Regions from separate parts of the Homo sapiens genome. Here all the other regions are linked to region 2. The links are contacts of gene promoters, found by promoter capture Hi-C in blood cells and fetal thymus (Javierre and others, 2016). All regions are on one chromosome and are shown on one strand. Each heading gives the region's core, a stretch centred on a gene start or on the middle of the fragment in contact. The rest is flanking DNA. Distances are from core to core; before and after follow the strand shown. Region 1 has its middle 20 kb from the start of NOX1. Region 2 holds the start of BTK (Bruton tyrosine kinase). Region 3 has its middle 2.3 kb from the start of TRMT2B. Region 4 has its middle 130 kb from the start of ZMAT1. Region 5 holds the start of ARMCX2 (armadillo repeat containing X-linked 2). Region 6 has its middle 100 kb from the start of ARMCX2.

The links. Contacts are between HindIII fragments. The CHiCAGO score rates a contact against its expected background, and 5 or more counts as called.
Region 1: a fragment that was not itself captured here is called in contact with the fragment with the promoter of BTK in region 2 in 1 of 17 cell types (naive B cells); the score reaches 5.5 in naive B cells.
Region 3: a contact is called between a fragment that was not itself captured here and the fragment with the promoter of BTK in region 2, in 1 of 17 cell types (total B cells). The highest score is 5.3, in total B cells.
Region 4: a fragment that was not itself captured here is called in contact with the fragment with the promoter of BTK in region 2 in 10 of 17 cell types (monocytes, activated CD4 T cells, neutrophils and 7 more); the score reaches 9.0 in monocytes.
Region 5: a contact is called between a fragment that was not itself captured here and the fragment with the promoter of BTK in region 2, in 2 of 17 cell types (M0 macrophages and monocytes). The highest score is 6.0, in M0 macrophages.
Region 6: a fragment that was not itself captured here is called in contact with the fragment with the promoter of BTK in region 2 in 4 of 17 cell types (M0 macrophages, M2 macrophages, naive CD4 T cells and 1 more); the score reaches 6.3 in M0 macrophages.

The regions. Positions count from the first base shown.
Region 1 is chrX:100,892,449-100,896,496 of GRCh38, reverse strand. It overlaps a transcript of XKRX not described here. Among named protein-coding and RNA genes, the nearest start is that of NOX1, 20 kb to the right of the region's middle. RefSeq lists an enhancer at 603-1,104. The HindIII fragment of the contact is 6,104 bases long and covers 1-4,048 here.
Region 2 is chrX:101,384,692-101,388,353 of GRCh38, reverse strand. It overlaps BTK (Bruton tyrosine kinase), which reads left to right and starts at 2,163. Exons shown (of 19, transcript NM_000061.3): 1 at 2,163-2,292. RefSeq lists an enhancer at 2,677-2,896. The HindIII fragment of the contact is 7,609 bases long and covers 1-3,329 here.
Region 3 is chrX:101,052,378-101,056,485 of GRCh38, reverse strand. No RefSeq gene overlaps it. Among named protein-coding and RNA genes, the nearest start is that of TRMT2B, 2.3 kb to the right of the region's middle. The HindIII fragment of the contact is 843 bases long and covers 1,740-2,582 here.
Region 4 is chrX:101,802,085-101,806,149 of GRCh38, reverse strand. No RefSeq gene overlaps it. Among named protein-coding and RNA genes, the nearest start is that of ZMAT1, 130 kb to the left of the region's middle. The HindIII fragment of the contact is 4,080 bases long and covers 313-4,065 here.
Region 5 is chrX:101,658,720-101,662,618 of GRCh38, reverse strand. ARMCX2 (armadillo repeat containing X-linked 2) reads left to right here and starts at 2,769. Exons shown (of 6, transcript NM_177949.4): 1 at 2,769-2,861; 2 at 3,118-3,200; 3 at 3,471-3,543. The HindIII fragment of the contact is 1,645 bases long and covers 1,046-2,690 here.
Region 6 is chrX:101,760,904-101,764,537 of GRCh38, reverse strand. No RefSeq gene overlaps it. Among named protein-coding and RNA genes, the nearest start is that of ARMCX2, 100 kb to the right of the region's middle. The HindIII fragment of the contact is 1,847 bases long and covers 825-2,671 here.

The sequences.
Region 1 (4,048 bases), core at 141-2,640, 490 kb after region 2:
TGTATGTGTGTATTTCCCTTTTTGTACACAAAGATGATACATGATAAAAACTGTTCTTTACCTTGATTTTTTTCACTTCATACATCCAGAGATCATTCCATGTGAATATATGAGAATTATTTTCCTTTTTACAACTGTGTATTACTCCATTATGTGGTTATATTGGGTTTTTTCAGTCTTTTAATATTATAAATAATGCCAATAAATAGCACTGGGCATATGTCATTCTGCATTTTTTTCCAGTATGTCTTTGGAATAGATTCCAGGAAGTGAGATTGCTCTATGTATTAACAAGTTCCCCTCCAAATGGGCTATACAATTTTGCATTCCCAGCAGCAATGTGTGAGGGAATCCAGGTCTTTTTATATCTTTCCACAGAGCCAGTGTGGACCAAATTGGTAACTCTGAGTTTTATGGCCTGGGAGAGACTTCACCTCCCTCACCACTCATCCCACAGAAATACACCACAGCTCACATCCTATTATTTTTCCTATTACATACCCTGTGCTTAAAACAAATGGGTTGCCTAGCAGGAATGAGCAACCCTTTGTGGCAAGCCTTGTCTTGTTATGAGCCACTTCTCAAGTTTGCCTGGCTGCCTGTGGCTGAGGAAGGTTCTGAAACATGTTAAACAGCCCTGACAGCCTGATTGCTAATGAGTCTACATTGTCAGCTGTCTACACTAACCAAGTGATCTCGCCCATGAACCTGTGTCTGGAGGGTATACCCCAGTATACACAAGGCAGAATGGAACATCAGATGTTCATCTTTCTGCTTCTCTGAAGTGCTTGCTTTCTATTCATTATTACCAACATTGAAATAGACCCAATGGAGGCCCCGCAAGACAGACCCATCATTGTTTTTGTTGTTGATCTTTCACCTGTGGTGCTGGCCTTCACTTCCATTTGCTGCCTCTCCCTGTGTCTCCTTGGAGCTCTCGCCATCTTGTGGCAGGTCAGCAGGCTTCAGAACGGAAATGTCGACTTTACCTAAGTGTGAAGAAAATCAAATCCAAACTCCTTACCATGCTATACTGTATATGTGCAATGTATACTGTTCATAATTTGCTTCAAAATGCTTCAGTACCAGCTGTGTGATATACCTTATTTCATCTATTCTAAAATGCATATCTTTTTCACTTTTAATCACCTCTGAAATTAGGATGAATTTTACCATTAATAATATGTCATAATTTAATTAACAGCAAATTTTCTTTCTGGGTGCAGAAAAGAATGATGAGTCTTACAACCTATGACATTTTGGATTCATGAATTAATTATTTAACAAAATATTGTGTCTGTCTATGAAATGATCTTTTGAAATACCAGCCTAGGCTGGGGACAGTGGAGGTAGGAAGAAGGGGTGGATTTAGTATATACTTTGAAGTGGAGGAGAAACCGGTAATGTTTATTCATACTGATAAACAATTTTTACAATTCATTGTTAATTAGTTTTAATCCACACTCTGGGGGTGGTTAGTTAACATCCGAATTATTCTAATCAGGAATACATACTCAGGAGTGATTAGTTATTATTTGAAAGATCCTACTCAGGTGTTTACATCCCAGAAGTAATTATACCCCAGGATATTCACTTTTTCCTGTCTGAACTTGCACTAACTCAGAAATTCTTATACTTTATTTTTGCCATGGTCCCCTTTGGCCAACTGGTGAACCCATTTCAGAGTCATGCTTTTAATACCCAAAATAAAATACATAGGATTACAATCAAAACCAATTGTGTAAGCCTGTAGTTACAGCACTTTGGGAGGCTGAGGTGGCAGGATTGCTTGAGGCTAGGAGTTTGAGCCAGTCTGAAGAACATTGGAAGACCAGCCCCCCATCCCATCCCACTCCTCCCCACTGCCTCTACAAAACATTTAAAAATTAGCTGGTCATGTTGCTGTGCACCTGTGGTCCCATCTACTTGGGAGGCTGATTACTCCCCTGCCATCGCTTGAGCCCCGGGAGTGGAGGCTGCAATGAGCTATGGTTACACCACAGGCTGAAAAAAACATAAATGCATTCAAATGCAGATATCAAAATATTAAAGATGCAATTTATGACATTAACATGTGCTTCTTCACCCTCAGGTTTATTAAGGTATGATTGACAAAATTGTATATATTTATGGTGTACAGCATGATGTTTTGATATCTGTATGTATTGTGAAATGACCAAGTCAAGCTAATTTAAATATAATTATCTCACGTACTTATTATTATTATTTTGAGACAGAGTCTCGCTCTGTTGCCCAGACTGGAGTGCAGTGCCGCAATCTTGGCTCACTACAACCTCCCCCTGCCGGGTTCAAGCAATTCTCCTGCCACAGCCTCCTGAGTAGCTGGGATTACAGGCATGCGCCACCATGCTAGGCTAATTTTTGTATTTTTAATAGAGATGGGGTTTCACCATGTTGGTCAGGCTGGTCTCAAACTCCTGACCTTGTGATCCGCCTGCCTCGGCCTCCCAAAGGGCTGGGATTACAGGCATGAGCCACCGCACCCGGCCTACTTTTTAAAAAATTTTTATTTTAGATTCAAGTAGTACATGTGTATGTTTGTTACATGGGAATTAAATGTGTAATGGTGAGGACTGGGCTTCTAGTGTACACATCACCAAAATATTGAACATTGTACCCAGTAGGTAATTTTTCACCCCTTCCTCCTCTCCCACTCTCCCTCCTTTGGAGTCCCCAGAGTCTATTTGCCCCATCTTTATGTCCATGTGTGCCATTTGTTTAGCTTCCCCTTGTAAGTGAGAACATGCACTATTTGATATTCTGCTTCTGTGTTGGTTCACTTAGGATAATGGCCTTCAGCTGCATCCATGTTGCTGCAAATGACATTATTTTGTTCTTTATTGTGACTGTGTAGTATTCCATGGTGTATCGCCACCACATTTTCTTTATCCAATCAACTGTTGGTGGACACTTAGGTTGGTTCCATGTCTTTGCTATTGCACATAATGCTGTGACAAACATATGTGTGCAGGTGTCTTTTTTATACAATGATTTCTTTTCCTTTGGATAGATATACAGTAGTGGGATAGCTAGATTGAATGGTAGTTCCCTTCTTAGTTCTTGGAGATATCTCCATACTGTTTTTTTGTAGAGGTTGTACTAATTTACATCCTCACCAACAGTGATATACTTACCATTTTTGTGTGGTGAGAACATTTAAGATCTACTCTCTTAGCAATTTTCAAGTATATAATACATTATTATTTACTATAGTCACCATGCTGTACAATAGATCTCCAGAACTGATTCATCCTCACCGAAACTTTGTACATGTTGACCAACATCTTTCTATTTCTCCCACCCCAGTCCCTAGTAGTCACTATTCTACTCTCTGCTTCTACCAGCTCAAATTTTCAAGATTCTACACATAAGTGAGATCATGCAGTATTTATCTTTCTGTGCCTGGCTTATTTCACTTAGTGTAATATCCTCTAGGTTTGTCCATGTTGTCACAAATGAAAGGATTTCCTTCTTTTTTTAAAGCTGAATAGTATTCTGTTGTGCATACATACCACATTTTCTTTATCCATTCATCCACTGGTGGACACTTAGTTGATTCCATATCTTGGTTAATGTGAAGAATGCTGCAATGAATTTGAGAGCGAAGGTATGCCTTCAACGTATTGATTTCAGTTCCTTTGGATATATACCTGGAATAGGGATTGCTAGATCATATGGTAATTCTGTTTTTAACTTTTTTAGGAACCACTTACTGTTTTTCATAATGGCTGTACTAATTTACATTCCCACTAACAGTATGCAAGGGTTTCCTTTTCTCTATACCCTCACCAACACTTGTTATCTTTCCTGTTTTTGAAAGTAGCCATCCTAACAAGTACGAGGTGATACCTCATTGTGGTTTTGATTTGCCTTTCTGTGATGATTAGCGATGGTGGACATTATTTTTTTATATCCCTGTTGGCCACTTGTTTGTTGTCTTTTGAAAATATTTATTCAGATCCTTTGCTCATTTTTAATTGTTTTTTTTACATTTATTTTAATTTTTTTTAGCTTTAATTTTCATGGG
Region 2 (3,662 bases), core at 914-3,413:
TAGGGGAGTGGTCGTGGGCAGAGGGTGAAGAAAAGCCTACGTCTACTTGCTCTTTTCCCTTGTGCTCCTCTCTCTCTCTTGTTTAGCTCTCCCATTGGATGCCTATCACCTCCCAGTCCCCACCCCAAGATGGATCTTGAGAAAGGACAGGGCATGTGACAACAAGTGGCATAAGACTGAAGAAAAGAGCCTGGGCACGGTGGCTCACGCATGTAATCCCAGCACTTTGGGAAGCTGAGGCGGGTGGATCACGAGGTCAGGAGATCGAGACCATCCTGGCTAACATGGTGAAACCCCGTCTCTACTAAAAATACAAAAAATTAGCCAGGCGTGGTGGCAGGCACCTGTAGTCCCAACTACTCAGGAGACTGAGGCAGGACAATGGCGTGAACCCGGGAGGTGGAGCTTGCAGTGAGCCGAGATCATGCCACTGCACTCCAGCCTGGGCGACAGGGCAAGACTCCGTCTCAAAAAAAAAAAAAACTGAAGAAAAGAGGAGGGAAGATGAATGCCTGTGGCCAACCCTCAGGCAGGTGAGTGGAACAGCTATTGGGGGTGACTAGCGAAAGGATAGACGTTGTCAATAAAGTAAGGCAATCATACAACACATGCTGTCCATCTGTCTTGTGCAAATGTGAGTATCAACCACTCTATCATCAGTCTACAAATACTTTAAATGTTTTTATTTAAAGTCCTGTTGATGGCTGGGAGAGGTGGCTCACTCCTGTAATCCCTGCATTTTGGGAGGCCAAGGCAGGAGTATCGCTTGAGCCCAGGAGTTTGAGACCAGCCTGGGCAACATAGTGAAACCCCATCTCTACAAAAAGTAGAAAAATTAGCCCAGCACAGTGATGTGTGCCTATAGTCCCAGGTACTAGGGTGACTGAGGTGAGAGGATCACTTGAGCCCAGGAGGTGGAGGCTGCAGTGAGCCATGATCACGCCACTGCACTCCAACCTGGGCTTCAGAGCAAGACCCTGTCTCAAAAAAAAAAAAAAAAAAAAAAGGTCCCAGGGCCTGTTGGGGCTTGGGGGTGAGGGGAGGGATCTTAGAGGATGGGTCAATAGGTGCAGCAAATCACCATGTCACACATATACCTATGTAACAAACTTGCACCTTCTGCACATATACCCCATTTTTTTTGTTTGCTTGTTTGTTTGTTTTTTAGACAAAATAAAGAAAAAAAAATAAGGTCCTGTTGACTTAAAACTTCGGATGAAATTGTAGTGGGACCTGTGATCTGTTTCTACATTAGGATACAGTGCCTTGGGGCAAGGAAATATGGCAGTGCCCGAGGTGTCAAGGTGGGCAGGCAGATCAGTCAGCAGGGGCTCCACCATCATGGTCTGCATTCAATACTGGCTGCATTTCCTAGGAGAATCCCTGGGGGAATCATTGCAGTTGGAGCATAATGTAGGGGGCCCCTGAGAAAACCTCCAGGCTTCAAGTGACATACCTAGTCTGCTTTACCGGTTTACAGGACTCAAGAGAAAGGTGGACATTGAGAGTTAATCCCTGAGGCCAAATCTTAAATGGAGAAAGTCAACATCCACAGAAAATGGGGAAGGGCACAAGTATTTCTGTGGGCTTATATTCCGACATTTTTATCTGTAGGGGAAAAATGCTTTCTTAGAAAATGACTCAGCACGGGGAAGTCTTGTCTCTACCTCTGTCTTGTTTTGTCCTTTGGGGTCCCTTCACTATCAAGTTCAACTGTGTGTCCCTGAGACTCCTCTGCCCCGGAGGACAGGAGACTCGAAAAACGCTCTTCCTGGCCAGTCTCTTTGCTCTGTGTCTGCCAGCCCCCAGCATCTCTCCTCTTTCCTGTAAGCCCCTCTCCCTGTGCTGACTGTCTTCATAGTACTTTAGGTATGTTGTCCCTTTACCTCTGGGAGGATAGCTTGATGACCTGTCTGCTCAGGCCAGCCCCATCTAGAGTCTCAGTGGCCCCAGTCATGTTGAGAAAGGTTCTTTCAAAGATAGACTCAAGATAGTAGTGTCAGAGGTCCCAAGCAAATGAAGGGCGGGGACAGTTGAGGGGGTGGAATAGGGACGGCAGCAGGGAACCAGATAGCATGCTGCTGAGAAGAAAAAAAGACATTGGTTTAGGTCAGGAAGCAAAAAAAGGGAACTGAGTGGCTGTGAAAGGGTGGGGTTTGCTCAGACTGTCCTTCCTCTCTGGACTGTAAGAATATGTCTCCAGGGCCAGTGTCTGCTGCGATCGAGTCCCACCTTCCAAGTCCTGGCATCTCAATGCATCTGGGAAGCTACCTGCATTAAGTCAGGACTGAGGTGGGTCTGGGGTATGGCAGGGGCTGGGCAGCAGCAGCAATGTACCTTGCTTGGGACCCCTAAAAACCAGAGAGACAGCATGGCTGGTGCCATTTATCAGCTAGTGGAGGAGGCTGACGGAGGGTGGGAGTGTCATCAGCACAAGGCCCTGGCAGTCCCTTCTGGTGATTAGAGAGGCCGAAAGGGTCCTTTCCGACAAGGGCTGAGGGTGGGCGGAACAGGAAGAGAAAAATGTGACATGAGGTGACCATCCGAACAGGTAGCAAATGTTAGAAAGGGGTACCTCTGGCAAACTTAGTGGAAAAGTAATATTGCAGGGAGCAGTCAGATAAAAACAAGCCCTTCTGTCAAATAGTGCTTGAAGACTCAATAGGGATACATGGGTCAATGAAGCCTTTAGAAAAAGAAATACTAAGAGGCAGATTCTCTGAGAACATGGTAAAAGCTCACGCTCCACGTTATGAAGTTGACCTTTGTGAGCTAGGGAAAGGCCTGGCTAGGCCAGGGTGTAGGCTACCTGCCTTGAGCTGTACCAGGCCAAATGTCGCCAGGGTCAGAGCTGGCTTATTAAAGGACTGTGTGGAAGCTGTGCCAACCTCGTGGTAACAATGGGTAAAAGACTGGGCCAGGAGAAAGCAGCCTCTGCCTCAGCCCAGACAGTGCGGCCAACCCTTGAGGTTGTGGCAAAGGTTTCTCCTCTTACCATTGCCCTCCATGTGCATGGCTTGCTTTTCTCTTGTCTTCATTATTTCTCCTTTCCTTTCCTCCTCTCCAACCTCCTCCTCTTCCCACTCATCCTCTTTTCTCTACCTATATCCCCTCTTCATTATACCCTCCTCTGTTCTGTTGATTACCAGACCCTGACATACAGTTAGCACTTAACAAATAATTGCCGAATTGCATTGACTTTTTCTTGCTCCTTTCTTCCCCCGCTCTTTTCCCTTTTCCTTTCCCTTTCCATTTCCTCCTCCCTGCCTGCCTAGCACCTTCCCCATAAGGTGGTTGTGAGCAGTAAATGTGCAAATACATGTAAAGCTTTTAAAACAGGGCCTGGCAATAGTAAGTGCTGGATCTCAGTATTTGCTATAATTTTTACTCTGCCTCAGACCTGCCAATGTCCCCCAGAGGGCCTACCTAGAGCAAATAATATGACATTTAGAATAAAAGTGATTGGTGACCCCAATCAAGACATCCTTGGATAAGTTGCCCAGACTCCAGCCTCTCTGGAGCCTCAGTTATTTGATAAAATAATGTCACTTTCCAAATAAGCCACAAAATGCAAATACTCATGGCAACCTAAAGCATTATACCCAAACAGTGTCCCTTAGGGCTTGTCCTGTCTATTCTGACTCCTTTTATATTCAAACTAT
Region 3 (4,108 bases), core at 912-3,411, 330 kb after region 2:
TCAAGCAATTCTTGGCCAGGTGCGGTGGATCATGCCTGTGATCCTAGCACTTTGGGAGGCCGAGGTGAGTGGATCGCCTGAGGTCAGAAGTTCAAGACCAGCCTGGCCAGCATGGCAAAACCCTGTCTCTACTAAAAATACAAAAAATTAGCCAGGTGTGGTGGCAGGTCCCTGTAATCCCAGCTACTTGGGAGGATGAAGCAGGAGAATTGCTTGAACCCAGGAGGCGGAGGTTGCAGTGAGCTGAATTCACACCATTGCACTCCAGCCTGGGCAACAAGAGTGAAACTCCATCTCAAAAAAAAAAAAAAAAAAAAAAAAAAAGGAAAAGAAAAGAAAAAAAGAAGAAAAAAAAGCAATTCTCCTGTTTCAGCTCCTGAATAGCGGGGATTACAGGCATGCACCACCACGCCCAGCTACTTTTTGTATTTTTAGTAGAGACGGGGTTTCACCATGTTGGCCAGGCTGGTCTTGAACTCCTGACCTCAGGTGATACTGCCCGCCTCAGCCTCCCAAAGTGCTGGGATTACAGGCATGAGCCTCCTTACCCGGCCTTAGGTGGTTTTTGATCAAGGAGAACTTTAGAATTGTGGTGCTTGTCCAAGATGGCGATGCTCCTGCTTGGTAAATTTTAATATGTTATTTCTGAGAGCGAATGCTGTAGCCTCTCAGCTATCTTTTCCTTGCACCAAAATGAGAATGTTTGACAAATTCCTAGGGATTTCACTTTGTTGTGATTTGGTTTGCTAATAACAAAATTAAGTAAAAGGTTATCTTGGTTCCAGCTCTTATTTGAGTTAACAATATTCCTTATCATCTATGACATATCCACTTACTGACTTTCTGGTTGAAGGGTCTAACCTTTCCTATAATACGGGGTATTTCTTTCCCCTCTTACAAATGTAATGATTTCGCTTTTATAGTAGAATATGCTTTACCAGATTAAATAAATATAAAGGGGTTAATGGCTAAATAATTACATTATAGCTGCTTTAATCTCTTTTCTCTCTCTACCCCTCAGGGTTTTCCTCCTTGAATGACAGGCCTGCTTTAAATGAATTTGCCTGGATGCTCAAAATAGGTGGGGGTGAGGGAGGAAATGCCTTCTCTCTTTCAGCAGACAAGATGGAATTCAGTTTAATTAATCAAATATTAATATTTATTGAGCTCGTATGGGACACCTGATTCTGTGCTAGGCACAACACAGAAGGCCAAAACGAGAAGTGATAAAGGAGCAGAAGGGCTTGGGAAGGGGAAGAAAGGGGAAGAGGAGGTGATAAAAGGTGTAGAGCTGTCTAGCCATATAAGAGGGGATTAAAAGATGAGAAAGGGAAAATAGAGCCAAAGGTAAATTCTCTGGCCTGGTCTCACTTGATAGCCCTGCATGGGCCTAGAAGGCTGAAGCAGTGGTTTGAGTTCAAATTTTGCTTATGAGCCATGAGAGCAGTTAGGATAGTGGCAATTTGAGTCAAACATTTACCTCCTCAAGGGTTTAGGATGGAAGTGAAATCTCTCTTTAAAAAACAAGAAACATACACGTGTGTGTTTGTGTGTGTGTGTGTGTGTGTGTGTGTGTGTGTGTGTGTTGTGGGGGCCAAAGTCATTGGCCCCTGAAGGTTCACTAAAATATCACTGATATGAGGCTGATTCATAGGAGAAAAGGCATACAAATTTATTTAACATGTACACATGGGAGCCTTCATCATGGAGACCCAACCTCCCAATAATTAACAGAAGCTTATATATCATCTTGAAATTACAGAAAGAGACCAGGCGTGGCTCATGCCTGTAATCCCAGCACTTTGGGAGGCCGAGGCGGGCAGATCACGAGGTCAAGAGATCGAGACCATCCTGGCCAACATGTTGAAACCCCGTCTCTACTAAAAATACAAAAATTAGCTGGGCGTGGTGGTGCAAGCCTGTAGTCCAGCTACTAGGGAGGCTGAGGCAGGAGAATCGCTCGAACCCGGGAGGCAGAGGTTGCAGTGAGCCGAGATCGCGCCACTGCACTCCAGCCTGGGTGACAGAGCGAGACTCCATCTCAAAAAAAAAAAAAGCCGGGCGTGGTGGCTCACGGCTGTAATCCCAGGACTTTTGGAAGCCGAGGCGGGTGGATCACGAGGTTGGGAGATCAAGACCATCCTGGCTAACACGGTGAAACGCCGTCACTACTAAAAATACAAAAAATTAGCCAGGCGTGGTGGCGGGCGCCTGTAGTCCCAGCTACTTGGGAGGCTGAGGCAGGAGAATGGCATGAACCCGGGAGGCGGAGCTTGCAACAGTGAGCCGAGATCGCGCCACTGCACTCCAGCCTGGGTGACAGAGCGAGACTCCACCTCAAAAAAAAAAAGTAAGAAATTACAGAAAGAATGTGGACGAACTCAGAGTATATACAAAAACAGGTTTTAGTGGCAAGATAGGTTATGGAAGAAAGGAAGAGACTTGGTTTGTGAAGGTGGCCTTGTCATGTAGAGGAAGCCTCCTTCCGAAAGAATAGCTGGTAAATGCTTCTTTTCAAACTTTTAAAGATGTCAGACTCTCAATCTCTCCTGGATCCAGGTAAGGCATAGAAATGGGAAGCTTGGCTGTATTCAAGGAGGTTCTCTACAGATGCAAATTTCCCCCATCTCAGTCCTCTGGTCCTGAGGCAGCCATTTCAAACATATGGCAAATACATTTATTTTGGGGTAAAATATTTTTATTTTCTTCAGAATGTATGAACACACAGTATATCAACTTATTTTGAATGATAATAGCTAACTTTGTGTACTTACTGTATTCTAAGCACTTTGTGTGTATTAACTCATTTAATCGTTGTCACAACCGTATGAGGTAGGTAAAATTATTGTGGACATTTTTTTTCAGATGATGAAACTGAAGCACTGAGTAATTAAATAACTTGCTCAGTGGACACAGCTTATCAGTGGCAGATCTGCTGGGGGTGGTGGCTTATGCCTGTAATCCCAGCACTTTGGGAGGCCGAGGCAGGCGGATCACCTGAGGTCAGGAGATCGAGACCAGCCTGACCGACGTGGTGAAACTCCATCTCTACTAAAAATACAAAAATTAGCTGGGCGTGATGGTGCACTCCTGTAATCCCAGCTACTCGGGAGGCTGAGGCAGGAGAATCGCTTGAACCTGGGAGGCGGAGGTTGCGGTGAGCCGAGATCACACCATTGCACTCTAGCCTGGGCAACAAGAGCAAAACTCTGTCTCAAAAAACAGAAAAATAGAAAATAAGTGGCAGATCTGGGCTTTGAATCCTATTCTGACTGACTCAATGTTTGCTGCTATTTGAAGTATTGGGCCTTGTTTAATTTACTACTGTACTCACTAAGGCTAACACATTGCCTTGCACATAATAGGCATGTTATGCTTTGAATAAATATTAATACATGAAATGTTGACTACAAAGTGTTTTCCACTTGAGCACAATTACTATTAAGCATAAAAATTAAATATCATTAAATGTACGTTCACTATTTTTTTTTTTTGAAACGGAGTTTCACTCTTTTTGCCCAGGCTGGAATGCAATGGCATGATCTCAGCTCACTGCAACCTCCACCACCTGGGTTCGAGTGACTCTCCTGCCTCAGCCTCCTGAGCAGCTGGGATTACAGGCGTGCGCCACCACGCCTAGCTAATTTTTGTATTTTTAGTAGAGATGGGGTTTCACCATGTTGGTCAGGCTGGTCTCGAACCCCTGACCTCAGGTGATCCTTCCGCCTCGGCCTCCCAAACTGCTGGGATTACAGGCGTGAGCCACTGCACCCACCTCGGTAGGTTCACTTTGCTGTAAATTTTACTCTATTAAAGCAACAATATTTTACAGCACACAGATGTGTGTATACTTCAAGTTTTCTTACTCGTGGCTGGGCTAATGACTCCTCTAAAAATTAGAGGTATTACTGAATGTAGTCCAGGAGGTAGTGAATCAACCAAAAAGAGACATCTGTCCTCTTTTTGAGTTCTGTAGTTGAAGAAAAAGATTATTTCTGAGGGTTTAGGATTTAATAGTCTTGAGTGGGATCCAGTGAAGAAACTATAAAGTATTTTTCTGATGCAGTGTTAAAAGAGAATGAATGCTTGAGAAACCCCACGGCCCAGA
Region 4 (4,065 bases), core at 1,103-3,602, 420 kb before region 2:
GACACAGGAAGGGGAACATCACACACCGGGGCCTGTTGTGGGGTGGGGGGCTGGCGGATAGATAGCATTAGGAGATATACCTAATGTAAATGACGAATTAATGGGTGCAGCACACCAACATGGCACATGAATACATATGTAACAAACCTGCACGTTGTGCACAGGTACCCTAGAGCTTAAAGTATAATAAAAAATACATATATATTTAAAAAATAAAAATAAAAAAACAAAAACAAAATGGGATCACTTGGATAAGCAAGTAACAGCCTACAATATATTATTTTCATGTTTATAAAAATCATTATGCAAGCTTCCTCTTTGAAGTTAACTGGCACAAACTGGTTGAAACTGGTAAGGCCTTCTGGATTTGCTTTGAGCCATCAAAGACAACTAGAGTTCAGGTCAGTCTGTTCCATTTTATAAATAATATAATATCCTTGAGTTAAAAAAATAAAATAAAATGAACACCATCTGTATTGCAAAATTTAAGAGTACAAAGTATATAAAAAGCTGGAAGAAAATAGTTGCAATCTGTATTGCAGCTATGTGGTTAATATCCTTGATACTTTAACCAACAGAGAAACGGGCCGAAGATTACAATAGAGAATGTACATGAAAGTAACATCAATACCCAGTGAACATTTGAAAATATGCCCAATGATATAAATGATGAAATGTGAAACAAGCTCTCATACTACATGAAACAGATAAATATCAACACAGTATGCAGAGGACAATCACAGTTTGTAAAAGAGTACACTTTTACATTTGGAAAAATATCTGTGCATTTTATTAAGACACATAGAAAAGTCAACAGAATATATATCAAATTATTAATAATGAATATCTTCTGGTTGGGGTGGGAGTGCAGACTGGACAGTTAATATACTGATGTATTAATTTGGCAAAATGAATAAACCTCAAAAATGCTACTTTCAATGCTGGTTATGAAACCTTCTTTTCAATAAATAATAATTACCCTTATCTTGAAATAGCCATTTACTTCTTTCTTATTTTAAAATATATAATTCATATTAAGAGTTACTCTATTTAACTGGCTAAACTTTGTGCTGAGAGAGCTGATGGACAAAACTGCCTAGGGTCAGAGAAAAGAGGTCACAATATGCACAGATGTAATGCTCCTAGGGCAGTGACCAGGACTTCACAAATAAACCGTGGGTGCCAGTACTGTCACCTCCCTGAAGGCAGAAGAGACCATTCAGTTCGGCAGTGGTAAGTCCAGCATGGATGCCAGACCTCCCCTTCCCAGGAGAGCATCCATAAAGTGTCTGCTCATTATTAGGACACTGGAGGAAGGGCTCTGCATTGGACACATTTGCACTATAATTTACAGACATAATTAATATACCTGACATATAAGGAAAACTACTATCTAAAAGAGTTGTGTACATGTCTACCAACAGGTAATTTAAAGAAAAAAATGAAGGCAATGGCAATCAACATATGTAAAATTGCTTAAACACATCAAAAATTAAAGAAATCTAATAAAAAGCACTGAGATGCAGAAATATATAAGCAAGTTACAGAACATAACATACAACATGGCATGATTTTTGAATGACATATATTTCCATAAGGATATACATAGGTCATTTTTTTTTTTTGAGATGGAGTTTTGCTCTTTTTGCCCAGGCTGGAGCGCAATAGCGCAATCTTGGCTCACTGCAACTTCTGTCTCACAGGTTCAAGCAATTCTTCTGCCTCAGCCTCCCGAGTAGCTGGGATTACAGGCACACGCCACCACACCCGGCTAATTTTGTATTTTTAGTAGAGACAGGGCTTCTCCTTGTTGGTCAAGCTGGTCTTGAACTCCTGACCTCAGTTGTTCTGCCTGCCTTGGCCTCCCAAAGTGCTGGGATTTCAGGCGTGAGCCACTGCGCCCAGCCACATATGTCATATTTTAAAATATAAATGAACCCACAGAAACAAATCTAGAGAATATTTACAAATCAATTGAATTATTATCTTGAGAAAGGTCATAGTAATAGGGGAAACATAAGACAATGCCTCTTATAATTGTATATTTCTCCAGTGTTTTCAAGAGCTGGGGGAATACATACAGCTCACTGATTTTTAATTCGCAAAATAACCGAGATACAATTATGACAGCATAGAATAAACCTAGTTGTAGTTTGATTTACAAAACTAATGCTGAAAAAATATATAGTTCTGGACATTAAAAGATATTAAATGTCAGATAACATAAAAAGGAGGTTATACACCACATTATATTTATAACGACACATACACATTCACTCAACTGTGTTTAATTTGAGAGGGGGGTCAAAGGAAACATCCTGTCACATGAATTAATACCCATGGGCTCTGTCGCCATCTCTGCTTAGTGCTTTGTCTGCCGTATAACTTCCAGAAAGTTTATTCTGGTGGGCTTACACAGCCCTCCTTTCCCTCCTTCCCTCCTTCCTAGATCTCTTGCTAAAGTGATATCCAAGCTGCAGTTCTAGATTGGGTCAACAGATGGCATTGATTGACTTTCAATTTCAATTTTATTTTTCAATGAAAAAAATACTCATTTCACAAAATGAACAAATTGTACTTTGAATGGAGATTATGAAGAAGTATGGAAATAAAATAAAGATTCATTCCTTAACTCAGCAATTAACACATTTCATTTACTACATTAAATTTTGTAGAATATGGTTCTCAAACTTCAGCTTGCATCAGAATCACTTTGGACCTTGTGGCAAACTGGGGAGTACAGGTACCCCATAAATTTGTACAAACAACAAAGAAAGAAAAGACTGCTAGTACCAACCACAAGAGTTTCTGATTCAGTAGGTCTAGGATGGAGCCTAAGAATTAGCACTTTCTAGCAAGTTCCCAGGTGATACTGACACTGCTGGTCTGGGGACCAAACATTGAGATCCACCAATGCAGATCATAAAAACAAACACAAACAAAGCAAAATAGCACCTTATCCTTTACATAATACCTGGAGAATCACACTGTGCTGAGAATGCTGGGATCAAGGAAATGGGGTCATAGTGTGCAGTGGGACCACAGACTCAAGCAGTGGATACCACAATGTCACTCTCTGTAAAGCATGAAGGGACCAGTCACTAATCAATACAACGGCATAGAGCCCGTATGTGGACAATGTGGTGATTTCATCACATCTCCCACCCCAGGGGAGCCCTGTGGGTGAAGAATTAAGCTCCAGGCTCCCTGAGGCTCAGGGATCTAAAGTAACTGCCCAGATCTCACCTGGCCAAGCCCTGTTTCTTCCACTGCATCTCCAGACCGGGTGCTCTTTATTAGTTAAAGTACATTTTTTTAGGCTCTGCTTATTATTATTAAGGTAATCCACACTCATTTTGGACCATGTGGAAAATAGTGTCAAATACAGACAAGAAAATATATCCAGCACTCCTGCCCCTTCATGGTAAACACAATTAACATCTTGGTGTATTCTGTTATAGTATTTTTTCTCTACTTTAATATATGCCCACAAAGATAGATAGTAGCATTTCTGGAGAAGAGACATCTGTTTGGGGGGAAGTGACAGGACTGCTATCAGGACACAGTTCCTTTGACTGCAGCCTTCTGTACAGCAGATCTGTTATTAGGATTGGTTCCTCTGCACTGTTTCTTCATTCCAAGACTCAAAGGAAATCTCTTTATCTTGCACCTCTTAGAGTCTTTCTTCCCTTACAACATAAAAGACAAAGTACTAAGGACAGGAAAGCACATATGATGGTAGGAAATGGCATGAGGATTTTTCTGTTCCCTTCCAAAGCCCCTCAGGTAACTCATCCTACAATACTGGACAGTCACCATGGCTAATACATCACATTTCCCTCTGTACACTTAGGGTCCCAACTGTTCTCTCTTAGAGTTATGCATTTAGTTTCTATCACAGACATCTCTTCTGCAGAGAAGGCAAGGTGAGGCTAAGATAGTAAGCACTAAAGCCTCCCATGGGTTTCTCATTTCCCTAAAACAACTCTGAAAAGAAAGCATCATTATTTTCATTTTACTGATGATCAGCTCCAGGCTTGCCAAAGATAAACCACATATCCAGAT
Region 5 (3,899 bases), core at 619-3,118, 270 kb before region 2:
TAGGAATAAGAGGGAACTTCATTTATGTAGTAAAGAATTATACGTAATTTAATGAGTCGTTCTTAGATGAATTAAATTAGATATAAAAGAAAATATCCTTAACCTGATGAAGAAGATATCAGGAGCTCTTCTGATCTGGCAGATTCATCCCTTTCTCTGGACTATCAAGATTACAGAACTTAATGACTTGCCTCCATTCACTGATAGTATTTCTTTGTACTACGTGTGTGTGTGCACGTGCGACAGAGAGAAAGAGAGGGACTAGTAAACATAAGTGAAATTAGCCTTGAAAAAAAAATACATCAATCACAAACAACAAAAGTTATACTAAATAATGAAACAAAAGAGGCATTCCCACTGTCTTCAAGAACAAGATCAGGAGGCTCGTAAGGAAGTTCTAGTCAATGCCAGTCATTAAGTTCTGTGATCTTGGTAGACCACAGGGAGGGACGAATCTGCCAGATCAGAAGAACTTCTGATATATTCTTCATCAGGTTAAGGATATTTTCGTTTATGTCTAATTTAACCAAGAATGACTCATGCAGAAGAAGAAAGAAAAGGGGGCATAAATGTTGGAAAGGAAGAAATGAAAAATCATCATTTACAAATGATTATATATAATACCAAGATAAACCAAAGGTATCACTTTAAATTAGAATTAATAAAACAGATCACAAAAATTTGGAACTTGATTAATAAGCACAAACGCACTACTAATGTGTCTAAAAAGAAAGTTGGAAACTGTTGACAGTGGCTGGGAGTGGAAAAGATAACAAAAGTTTCTTTCCCTGTATACTTTATATATTTCCTTATTGTTTTGAATATTTTTAACCACTAATATATAATACTTGTATTACCAGAACAAAATACAAGATTCCTAATCTGGACTATTATATATATATAACACAGACCCTCTTGGCCATTGTATTAGCTCTTAATTTTTTGCAGGGCGGGGGTTACAGACCCCTTGAGAAACTGATGAGGTCAGTGATCTCTGTTCCTGAAAAAAATGCATTTAACCACACATATAATCCCAAACAAAGCTTTGCAGGTGAATGCAATTTCAGGTGGTCTACAGAGTTGACCGGGTGAGAACACCTACTCTGGGTTCATCAGTGGGGATTGTTCCCTGGGCATACATTTGGTTGAGAGGGCACCAAGGTGGATGTGTACTGGCAGGCAGTAACCTTGCAGGAAGGCTAGACTCTTCCTAGGTCCCCTGGAGCTAAGGAGGCAGAAGTGAGAGGCCCAGGAGGATGCATCTCTTAGGCCAAGTGGTAGTAGCAGACAGTGTTTGGAGCAAGGTTCACTGGTAACCACGAATAAGGACAGACAGCAGTCAGGCCTGGGAACTTCCCCCAACAATCACTTTTTGTGTGATCACAAAAACCTTTTTGTGAAATCACAGGTTTCACAAATCGTCAGCTGCAGGGTCAGGTAAGAACAGCAATCCTTTCTATGCATCAATGGGTTTCCTCTGGGAACTTGGGGGAGGGACGGAAAGAGCCAAAGACATTTAACCAGGTCTGCATCTTGGTCACTTGTCTGGATATATTTTGGGTGTGAGCAACTGAGCCAGGTACCTGAATGCAGGAGATGAGCGGCTCTGGCATATGGGAGGGAGTAGAGAGACAGCATCTCCCTCCTCCTCCTGACAGGGCAGGGAGGATTTGACCACTCTGCACCCACCACACTCAGTTTCCTTGGCCTCACAGCTCTTCCTTTTGCCCAGAGTTGAATCATTAACTGGAACCTAATCCGAAGACAGGTGTTTAAAACTGTCATGGTTACAGCCATCAAATTACAGGAGGTTCACACACAGCAGTCAGCAATGGTTTGGGAATATTAAATAAATGTGTTTCTCTAACAGGACAAGACAGGATCATTTATTTATGCAACTTAAAAGCTGTCCCAGAAGGAGAAAAAAGTAGCGTATTATTTGTCCAAAATAAACAAGATTGAAGAACTGAACATCTCTCTGTGGATCAATTTACAGATCACATGGAAATATGCTTATCTTATTGAGAAATATTCCATTTTAGATGTTCAAATACCTTAGCATATTTTAAAAACTATTTCCTATGTGACCAAAAGAATTCATGTTCTATTCGGTAAAAATTAACCAAAATTAATGGTGCTTTCCAATGGACGCAGGAAACCTTTTTTCTTTACAAAACATGCCCACCCTTTTTTTGTTGCTACTTCCCACATTGAATTCTTGTTTTACTGAATTTTCTTACTATAAAAATAAAGCATGATGATAGTTTTGAAAACAAAACAGAAGTATTTGAGAAGTACAGACCCCACTCCCACTCCTTGTCTCCTTTCTGACACTCTGCCCCTTAACTATACTGGAACAGGGAGTCAACTGCAAGGAAAATCCTGGGGACTAGGGGCTGAGGAACTAGAGGTGGAGAGATGGAAGAGTGTCCAGTAGCCCAGGAAAGGATGAAACAATTCCCCAACAAAAAAGTAAAAATTTTCAGTAGCCCTCCGAGAAGATGCAGCCCCTCCCAGGTAACCAGAGAAAGGCAAATTGTGAAAGCAGGGAGAAGGGGCTACTTTAGGCCTCCAGGACTACAAAGACAAAAAAATGAGTGACAGGACCTGATGTGGTGGGGTGAGATGGGAATGGAAGTAAAGGAGGGGGCTCGTACTCTTGGTGGGAGTGGAAATTGGGGACCCAAGCTTACTGGCGATGCAGCCCTCACGTGACCAGGAGCTGACGTGGGCAAAGGTACTTAAAGCCCTGACCGTCGTTCTCCGTCCTCCTCTGGGTACCAACTCTATTGCGCAGCTCGCTGCCGTGCGTTTAACCCAGGCGAGGAGGAGGAGGAGAAAATTCCCCCAGATTCGGGCAGGTGGGTGTGAGGGTGGGCACAGTCTGGGACCCCTGAATAGGGGTAATCTAGGGATGCGGGAGTCGGAGGCCGCGGGTGCCTCGGTCTCCCCCACTCCTGGCCGGCTTTCCAGACCTGAGGTGCTCAAACGCGGCTCATTTTGGTGGGCGGTGGGGAAAGGGGGAGGGGGAAACGAAAAGACTTTTGATAGACTTTACGAAGAATCCGCTTACTTCCTTTCCAGCCAGTGTTTTTTGGTTTTGTTTATAATATTCAGGCCCGCACCCCACATTCCGTCCTGTTTTGAGAGGAGGAGGGAAGAGAAATAAACGTGGCAGCGCATAGAAGGCCAGCAGGGAGGTTGGGAAAGGGTAACCAGGAGGCGGGGGTGGGGCATGCAATTTGGTAACAATCTGGGCGGCACACTCCCACCCTGACTTTCCCCACCACCGCCCCGGCACCCTCCCATCCCCCAGCCGACCCTCTGTGATTTGGGAGTGCTGGGAAATGGGTGTACCAGCTGCTGTTGGAGAGGTGGCGGGTTTGGCGCTGTCTGGGCTTCACGGGAGGTGGGGGGGAGGGGGCGGACCCTGAGAGAATCTGGTATTAAACCGCCTTGTTAACTCGCAGACTGCTTTCCAGACACCTCCGGCCCACACAGCCGTTCACCCCCCGTCTTTTCAGTCCTGGAAAAGGAATTCGGGTATGCAGGCGGGAGAAATGGCGGTTGTTGGGGGGATTTGTGGGAAGTGGGAGGTAGAGCCCATAGCAGAGAAATCGTGGAAAATCTCGACCCTGAACCCGAAAAGGCAGACGTTGAGGCCCCTCTTCTGCAGGCTAACGCTAGGCCTAGGGGCTGGGGAGCGAAAGATGGGTGATCCTGGGAGGGGAACACTGAATTGTTTGGCAGGAGTCCCCCATACCGCGTCCCATCCAGCTTTTGCTGCACCCTCGCCCCGCTCCCCTCCCGCTTCGTTGCAGGAGAAGGGGTGTGGCGGTGTGTCCTGGAGAAATGGCGGACGGGGGCGGGGCAAAGCGGAAGGAGGGATTGAGTGCCTG
Region 6 (3,634 bases), core at 499-2,998, 380 kb before region 2:
CAGGGAAAGGAAATACCACCACTGTGCATGGGATTAGAAATTGGTATTGAACATTTTAAATCTGCATTTGGCAATGCCATATGTTTTGGTTAAAATTTTTTACTTTCAGGAATTTATCCTATGGAAAATCTTACAAAAGTTCCAAAAATATATGCACAATCACCATGGTTGTACCATGGTTTCAAATAGGAAATTCTTGAAACATGTTTTGTTGTAAGATAAATTCCTCAGAACAGAATGGCTGGATCAAGGCTCCTCAGGATATAAAATACTTAATTAAATGGAAAAAATAAGATTATTTGAAGAAAATAAGAATTACCACCAATTCTTAGGCCCCCAGTCATAAAAAAAAATCACCTCTTTCTTTTATATTACTAGGATATATAATGTTCTTGGAAATAGTTACCTGGAATAGGGGGAGTTGTGCCTATTATGGCACTGTGTTGGACAGCTAATATACATACTATTTCAAGATCAATGTTATAACCAATTCCAAGATAAGGAAACTGAAGTTCAGAGGGTGAAGAAACTTGTAGGGGTAAGAGCTGGGATGGAATCTCCAGTACAGTTTAATATAAAGCACAGCATATTTATCTATATTTTGATAATTCCATCAGATTACTTCAAGAACTCTGCAATGAAAGGATTACTTTCCTCCTCTTTAGAACAAGAAAATGGGAAATCAGAAGAGTTAAGTACCTTACCTTTTGGTCACCCCCTAGCAATGGGCAAAGCCAGAGGAGAACACAAGGTATGTATAGCCCCAAAACATTTTCTCTTTCCAACCTATCACACTCCCTTGTGTTCCCTAGCTACTAAAAGCTTTTACAGGCTTTGTTTCTGTTTGTAAAAATAATCCATGCCCATTTAGGATATTATCAAAAGTACAGACAGGTATAAAAAGATACAAGTAACTTCCAATCATACTCTCATTGATAAACAGTGTTCATAGTTTCTTGAATCTCATTGAAACTAGAAATATACACATACATGCAAATATGTGTACAGCTGCATACCCATTTTATGGAACTGCAATCATACTGGATAGATAGGTGGTGGTGTGTACTAATGCTTCACATTATATCATATGGCATGAGAATAAGATTTCCCATTCTTTTGTTAGTGAACAGTTTAAAATGACCCAACATCAATTCTTAGCGTCTATGAATTATTAAGTAACAGCAAATGCCACATTTATGAAATTCTCAATGTCTCTGTACACTTGGTTCTGCTTCTTATTTTTCTATTCTGTCCCATTAATATGTATGTCAGTTCTTGCACCACCACTGAACCCTTTTAATGCTGCAGCGTAATAGAACCTGTCATCTAAGGTGAAACACTACATTCTTCCCAGCCCCAAACCCTTTATTATTCTTCTGATGGTCTTGAAAAAGCCAATAATAAAGGAACATGATGATAACATTTATTGATTACTTAGTGCCAGACACTTTACTAAATGCTGTACATGCATGTTCTCACTTAATTTTCAGTACAGCCTAATGATGTTGTTGCCATTATAACAGCCATTTGAAATATTTTTAAATGGGTCTCAGAGAGGTTAAAAAATTTGCTAAAGGTCATGCAACCAGAAAACAATAGCACCCAAAGCCCAAACCCCCTAACCAGTTATATTGCATGTGACTTGGTGTTAGAGATGAGGCCAGCACAGAGGAAGTGACTCATCTAAGATCCAATGGTCCTTATTATATTTGGTTCCCCTGTACTGTCTCCTTTTTCCAGAACTTACTGGAAAACTATTTCTTCAGATGTTCAAGTAGAAAGTGAAGTAACAGGGACAGAAATTCAATAGAATACAAGGAAATAGTACAATATTGTCTTCCCTTTCTCCAAATTCTTCTGATAACATTCTACAACTGAGATGGCACCCAAATTCATACATTATGTAAATGCCTATACATTTCCTTTCTTGTTGCTACATTTCCAAATGCTCTGACAGTTCTGCTCTTTCTTTTATGTCGAAGTCTCTTTTATCGTGGTGAGGAGTCATGGTGAGCAGAACAAACATTTGCTGAAGTTATATTATGCACCAAACATTTCCTTAAGTTCCCTCATTTTCCCTACACAATTCTGTGGGGACAGTATCAATTGTTTCCCATTTTGCAGTGGAGAAGTTCAGGCTCACAGAGTATAAATCGATTTTCCAGAGTCACACATCTGGTAAGAGGCAGGAATGCAGTTGCATCCCTCACCCTCCCTAGAAAACCCTGAGCAGCCTCCTTCTTAGAAGATGGGCTTCCAGGGCTTGAGAAATGGTCAGATTCCACTCCCCTGCTATTGTGGACCCACAAATCTGCACTCCACAATCCCTTTGGGTGATGAAGAAGATAGAGGAGTTGAAATCCTGCCCTTTGCGCAAAGAGACCTGGGTGTAGGGCCACATGAGTTGGCAGATCCCTGAAGTGGTGAGTGGGCTCAGGCAGAAGCTCAGGCTTTAAAAGACTGGAGAGGTGATCTGCTGGATGGAAATGAACAAGAAAATCATTCTACATCGTGGTAACTTTATATCTCATCTCCTTTAATCCCAAAAACAAACATTCAAAGTAAAGATTACTATCTTCATTCTTACCTAGAGCTCAAACCACCTAGGTCATTAATATCCTAAATTACAGACCAGGTAGTCTAAGCCTGAAATTTTTCTAAAACCCAAGCTTTTCTCACTGCATCTTGTGGCCTTATGGGCTTTGAATGCTCTCTGTGTCTATCTCACATTAGACTGGCAAATTACTCCACTCTAGTGTATTCTTCAAACATTTATAATTAACCACATTGTCTTTTAATAATAAAATGAAAATTTGAAACATTTGCATTGCAAAAGCTGATAAAAAGAAATATAAAATGGGAAAAAATGATGCACGTGTATTACAGACATTGAGTTAATGTTCATAATATATAAGAAGATGAGCATATGGCTTGATGTGGTTTCAATTTATGTCTGTTGTTTCACAGACCACCTTTTACTCTCAAAAGTGTCAATTCACAAAAAAATGGAAAAATATCCCATGTTCACAGAAAAGAATAATTAATATCATTAAAGTGGCCATACTGACCAAAGCAATCTACAGATTTAACACTATTCTTAATTTTTCACAGAACTAAAAAAAAAAAAATCTGTTCTAAAACTCATATAGAACAAAGTGCCCAAATAGCCAAAGCAATCCTAAGCAAAAGGAACAATGCTGGAGTCATCACACTACCCGACTTCAAACTATACTATAAGGCTGCAGTAACCAAAATAGCATGGTACTGCTACAAAAACAGACACATAGACCATGAACCGGAATACAGAACCCAGAAATAAGACCACATACCCACAGTCATCTGATCTTTGACAAAGTTGCAATGGGGAGAGGGCTCCCTATTCAATAAATTGTGCTGGGATGCCTGGCTAGCCATATGCAGAAGAAACTGGACCCCCTACCTCTCAACATATATTAGTACAAAAATTAACTAAAAATAGATTAAAGATTTAAAAGTAAGACCTCAAATATAAGAATCTTAGGAAGACAACCTAGGAAATGCCATTCTGGACATCAGCCTTGGGAAAGTGTTTATGACTGAGTCCTCAAAAGCAATTACAACAAAAACAAAAATTGACAAATGGGACCTGATTAAA